2 separate regions of the Homo sapiens genome follow, and region 1 is linked to region 2. The links are contacts of gene promoters, found by promoter capture Hi-C in blood cells and fetal thymus (Javierre and others, 2016). All regions are on one chromosome and are shown on one strand. Each heading gives the region's core, a stretch centred on a gene start or on the middle of the fragment in contact. The rest is flanking DNA. Distances are from core to core; before and after follow the strand shown.

What was found. Contacts are between HindIII fragments. The CHiCAGO score rates a contact against its expected background, and 5 or more counts as called.
Region 1: the fragment with the promoter of STK10 here is called in contact with the fragment with the promoter of RPL26L1 in region 2 in 3 of 17 cell types (naive B cells, naive CD4 T cells and activated CD4 T cells); the score reaches 5.7 in naive B cells.

Annotation. Positions count from the first base shown.
Region 1 is chr5:172,186,885-172,189,773 of GRCh38, reverse strand. STK10 (serine/threonine kinase 10) reads left to right here and starts at 1,550. Exons shown (of 19, transcript NM_005990.4): 1 at 1,550-1,887. The coding sequence starts at 1,732. RefSeq lists enhancers at 790-1,565, 2,618-2,697 and silencers at 1,238-1,597, 1,898-1,947, 2,078-2,157. The HindIII fragment of the contact is 8,713 bases long and covers 1,238-2,889 here.
Region 2 is chr5:172,958,090-172,960,847 of GRCh38, reverse strand. It overlaps RPL26L1 (ribosomal protein L26 like 1), which reads right to left and starts at 1,424. Exons shown (of 4, transcript NM_016093.4): 1 at 1,380-1,424; 2 at 807-983. The coding sequence starts at 974. It overlaps RPL26L1-AS1 (RPL26L1 antisense RNA 1), which reads left to right and starts at 1,480. Exons shown (of 4, transcript NR_026682.1): 1 at 1,480-1,558; 2 at 2,591-2,709. The HindIII fragment of the contact is 11,810 bases long and covers 1-2,758 here.

The DNA.
Region 1 (2,889 bases), core at 301-2,800, 770 kb after region 2:
TCAGAGCTGGTCAGAGCCCTCCAGGCCTACAGCTTTCGTGGAGTCAGAGCCTTCATCTCCTAGTATGGAAGCAACCCTCTTGGTCTCCCCACCCGCTTCGTACAGTTGGCCAAATGGTCTGAAACAAATGAAAGACCTGCCTTTCAGCATGTTTTGGGAGGTTCAGACAGCGCCTGACTCAATGAGAACGGTCAGCGACGAGCGGCGTTTCCTTCTTTTAAAGACCCTCTACAATTCCAGGCACTCCTGCAGCTGTGGAAACATTCCGAACGGCTTAGCAACCAGGACACCCTCTGCGCCGACCACTACCAGCATCGCAGGCTTCTTGAGCTGGCTTTCCCAGTGGAAAACCATGCTTGGTGTTTGCACACTGTTCAAAGGATGTTTTCGAACAAAGCACCGAGGAAGGGGCGAAAACACCTCAACACAGCCGTTCTCTGGGGTTGGAGCTATTGAACTGTGACATTTGCGAAGACTCAACTTGTTTATGACACGGTCCAAATAATAACCCTTGCAGACTGCCCGCCCCCCCCCCCCACCCCCAGCACTCTCCTTAGATTCAGGTAAAAGCATGTTATAACCGTCTATAGGACAAACAGGCAACAGTAGCAGTGAAGTGACTCAAGTAGCCAGGATCGAGAATGAAGGTGCTCAAAGAAGACTTTAGTTTGATCTGTATGTAGTGCGCTCATCTTTTTTGAAACTAGGAAATTAAAAATTAGAATAAAGTTTTTATTTAATATGCAAATACATCCGCAAACCCATCAGGAAACATAAGAGAAATCAGTGCCAAAGGAGCTCTTTCTCCCAGCCCTCTAATCCTGGCAGGTTTGTGGATCGTGGACGGGGAGCCCCTGGAAAGGACCGCGCCGGGAAGCCGGGCCCTGCAGGGACTGGCCGCGGCTGCACCGGCGTTGCCCGTCGCACACTAGGAGGCAGCACCGCGCCGAGGAACCCGCAGCAGACGGGCAGCCAGCGTGTGTGCCTGGGGCGAGTGCCCTCGCCTGCCGGCGTCCCCATCGGAAAAGTGGGGGCGAGGGCAGCCTAGCGGAATAGCTGCGGGAGGATTAAATGAACGAGTGCAGGTTCACCTTCTGGGCGCTGACAACGATCCGTGGGCTCTCGCGAAATGCCAAGTCGCCGTCCCGCTTGCTCCCATAAAAGTTTTGGGAGCCACGCGGCGCGGCGGGCGGGCTCCTGAGTCCATGAGCGGTCCCACCGAGCGGTCCCCGAAGCTTCCCCAAAGCCCAGCCCGCGGCTCGCGGAGCGTGGTGTGGGGGGACTACAGTTTCCAGAGTGCCCTGCGGCGACGGGCGGAGCCGGGGAGCGCCCGCAGCCAATTAGGGGGTCCCGGGGCTCTGCCGGGGAGCGGCGGGTGGAGCCGGGCCGGTGGGCGGGCGCGGGGACGGTCCCCTGGAACGGGTCCGAGGCTCTCGCAGGCAGGGCTGGGCCGGGCAGGAGCTGCGAGGCCGGCACAAGGGAGGCGGCCCTGGGGACCTGACAGGGCGGGGGCGGGGGCGGGCACGCCGCCGCCTGCGCGGTTCCGGGTGCTCCCGGCGCGGCGCTGCCCAGGGCACACTTGACCGAGGTCGGGCTGCGGGGAAAGGCGGGTCTGGGGAGAACCCCGAGAGACGCGGCGTCCTCCAACTCCTCCTCCTTCTCCTCGCGGCCGCCGAAGCCACAGCCCGAGCCCGAGCCCGAGCCCGAGCCGGCGCCACCGCGCCCCCGGCCATGGCTTTTGCCAATTTCCGCCGCATCCTGCGCCTGTCTACCTTCGAGAAGAGAAAGTCCCGCGAATATGAGCACGTCCGCCGCGACCTGGACCCCAACGAGGTGTGGGAGATCGTGGGCGAGCTGGGCGACGGCGCCTTCGGCAAGGTTTACAAGGTGAGGGCGCTGAGGTGGGTGGCCGGACGCGCGTCGAGGGGCTCCGGAAGGAAGGGATGCCTGAGCCGGACCCGGCCAGCCTGGCTCCGGCTCCGAGGGCTGCCCGGCGCTGAATTCGGGGTCCCTGGCCCTCATCCCGATGACTCTTGTTTTTTGGGGGGAACATCACTCGGCCCGGCCGAGTCCCTGCGCTCTGGGCGCCCCCTCCGGGCACGGTTGCCGCCCCCACCCTAGCCCTGTTTCGGAGCACTTCCTGTGTGTCCTGCACTGCGCTCGGCGCCGCACGGGGAGACAAAGGGGCGTTGACAGGACCTCAGCATCCGAGAGGGCCACTCGAGGGACCTTCCAGGGACGTTCCGTAAAACGGCGATACGGGCACACTTTTTTTTTTAAGAGAGACCACAGATGCTGTGGGAATATCGAGGCGATGTGGACCGAGAAACTCGGCTGCGCTTGGACGGGTTGGGAGCTAGGGACACATCTGAAGATGAGCCAGAGACAGGGAAGTGGGGTGGGCGAGGGGTGGCCCATGGACTGAGAGGTGGGGCTTGGAAAGGTGGGTTGGGGCTGGTCAGAGGGGGAGGTCAGGATCTGGTGAATGCTGAGCCTGGGGGAACAGATTTGATTCCGTCGGTCTGAGTCACAGCTGGGGAGTCTCCCAGCCTGCAGTCACCTCTCCCCTAGAGGAAGACGCGGCAGAGAGCTTTTGTGGAGTGGGTGGGGCAGAGCTGATTGAGTCTAGAGAAGTGTGGCAGCAGGACGTTGGTTTCTGCTCCTGGGAGCTAATTCTGAGGTGGTGAGTTGTTTTAGGGAGCCAACACCTACAGCTTGACTCCCCCCTTTCCCCTAAGAAAATTTTTACTGGGAGACGCCCACTTGTTAAATTGGTGTATACCTCCAGGAGAGCACCTCTCTTCTAAGCCACTATCCTCCTCCTTGGGGCTCCTGTAGCTTGTAGGGCACTCTGACCCTAGGATTGCCGTTCTATGAGGCTGGACCACA
Region 2 (2,758 bases), core at 175-2,674:
GTGATCTCCATGAGAACAAGGGCCTCGTCAATCTTGTCCTAGAACAATCTCTGGTAAGTGCTCCATAAATATTCCTTTGAGGAATGAATCTAGCCCCTGCTTATTTCACTCATATCCAACTCCCTTCCCTCCTCTCATGCATTCTAAGCTCCAATCACAGAGAACAGAGGGCTTGTACGTTCTCACATGGGCCAGTCTTTTAGAAATTATGAAAGAGTGACTCGCTGCATCTTTACCAGTTCTCCTGCCAAATCCAATGCTATCACATGGCCAGCTCCCACAAATCTCTGTCCATCAATCCCACTACACCCAAATACACTAAAACACTACTCTCACTGCAGCACCTTCCCCTACAGTCTGGTTCAACAAGCCACCCTGGGCAACAACACTTGGCAAACTAGCAGCCAGAAGGTTAAATCAAAAGTATTTTTGGTGGGGCACGGTGGCTCACACTTGTAATCCCAGTGCTTTGGGAGGCTGAGGTGGGAGGATCACTTGAGGCCAGGAGTTCAGAGACCAGCCTGGGCAACATAGCAAGACCCTATCTCTACAAAACAAACAAAAAAGCAGGTTTTTGCTTGGTTGACATACTGTTTTATTAAATTTTACTATTACTATTAAATAATTAAATGCTCTAAAGCAACGCAGGCACTCTCTGGTGGCTCTGAACCCTATCTCTGGCCTAACACATCTGAAGGGTCACACTACTTTCCAGAGTCCTGAGGCATGTGAGTCTGTGACTGCTCCACGCATGACGTTCTTAGGCAACGGTGTCCGAGCGCCACTAGCGCCGGAGGGAGACGTACCTGGACCTCGTCGTCCTTGCGGATGGGCATGGAGCGGACATTGTACTTCTGCCGCAGCTCCTTGGAGAGCGGGGATGACATGATCTTCCTGCGCACGTGTGAGGGGGCATTGAAGTGACGTTTGCGGTTTTTACTGCGGTCCGAGGTAACGAAGGGATTGAACTTCATGGTGACCCTCTACAAAGGGCGGAGAGAGACGGAATGAAGGGGCGCTCAGTGGGTTACAGGGGCCTGTTCTCGACCCAAGACACTCCTCATCCCCCAACAAAGGCTCTACAGGGGAGGTAGCCTCTGAAAAGGCAACTGAGGGAGGACAGAGAGATGCGACTAGTCTGACTATCACATAAAGTGAGGCGTGTGTGGAGGTCGCATGCCCGTCTAAAGGGGTCGTGGGGGAGAGGGTAGCACTGGGACCTTGAGGCTGAGGAAGGAATGCTAGGGTTAGGCAGGAATGGGTGGTCGGGAGGTCACTCAAAGAGAGCTGTGGGGTGACATGTGTTCCCGCGACACATAGGGCAGGGTCTCACGGGGCGGTAGAGTTCACTGTCCGAGAAAACTCCAGCCTCCACTCACCCGGCTACTAGCTGCCTCAGACCCTGAGTGCGCAGGGCCGGAAGTGAGTTTCCGTGCCGCGCAAGCGCAGAAAGACATCGAAGCCCCATTTCCGTAGGAGCGAAGTCGAATGGCGCCCCCAGCGGCTTGGGGTGGGATCTCAGTGCCTCATTCCTGGCGGCCCCGGGAGGGCGATGCCAGTGAGTACAAGGGCCTGCTTGTGTAGGGCCTGCGGTAGAGGCTTACTGGTGTTCTTTTTTTTTTTTTTGAGACGGAGTCTCGCTCTGTCGCCCAGACTGGAGTGCAGTGGCGCGAGCTCGGCTCACTGCAAGCTCCGCCTCCCGGGTTCACGCCATTCTCCTGCCTCAGCCTCCCGAGTAGCTGGGACTACAGGCGCCCCCCACCACGCCCGGCTAATTTTTTGTATTTTTAGTAGAGACGGGGTTTCACCCTGTTAGCCAGGATGGTCTCGATTTCCTGACCTCGTGATCCGCCCGCCTCGGCCTTCCAAAGTGCTGGGATTACAGGCGTGAGCCGCCGCGCCCTCCTACCTCTACTTTTTTCTATCTCTGGGACTAAACGGCGGCCGGCGGCGTGCCTGCGGGTTTGTGGCCGCCGCCCCGCCCCTCTCTCCTAGACCCCGCCCCTCTCATCCAGTCCCCGCCCACTCCGGCCGCTCCGCGCCCACCTGTGGCCCTCTTGGCCCTTCTGCCCGTGCCTGGCCCCGCCGGGTCGCTCCCGAGCTCCGCGTTTCGTTCGCCGACCCCTGGAAGACTGCCTGGAGGCCCGGGCGCCACCCAACCACTGGCTAGGCCGACACTTTGCGCGGACCCTGGGTGTAAAAGGTCCCCGGGTCTCTGGTCCCGACGGAGCTGTGAGGGAGATCAACCACGCCCCCTCCGTGGGCACCGTGGCGGCAGGGAAGGAAAAGGGCTCTGGGTCTCGACTCTCTTCGGGTTAAGAACCGACGGGGTTTATTCTATGCAAGGTGTTATTAACTCCAACTCTCCCTTTCGTTCATTCATTCCATATATGTTGAACGACAACTTAGTGCCAAATGCCGGCATGCTGAAACTCAGAGAGGGAAGATGTCTTGCAAGTACAGCAGCCACACCCAGGCAGGTCCCGTGCTCTCTCTTAGTTTATCAGTGTTCCCTGACATGTAGTGGTGACATTGTTAAACACCTGCGTTTACTAATACTAGATTTTTTTTTTTTTTTTTTTTGAGATAGAGTTTCGCTCTTGTTCCCTGGGCTGCAGTGCAGTGGCACCATCTCGGCTCACCGCAACCTCCGCCTCCCAAGTTCAAGCGATTCTCCTGCCTCAGCCTCCCCAGTATCTGGGATTACAGGTATGCGCCACCACGCCCGGCTAATTTTGTATTTTTAGTAGAGACGGGG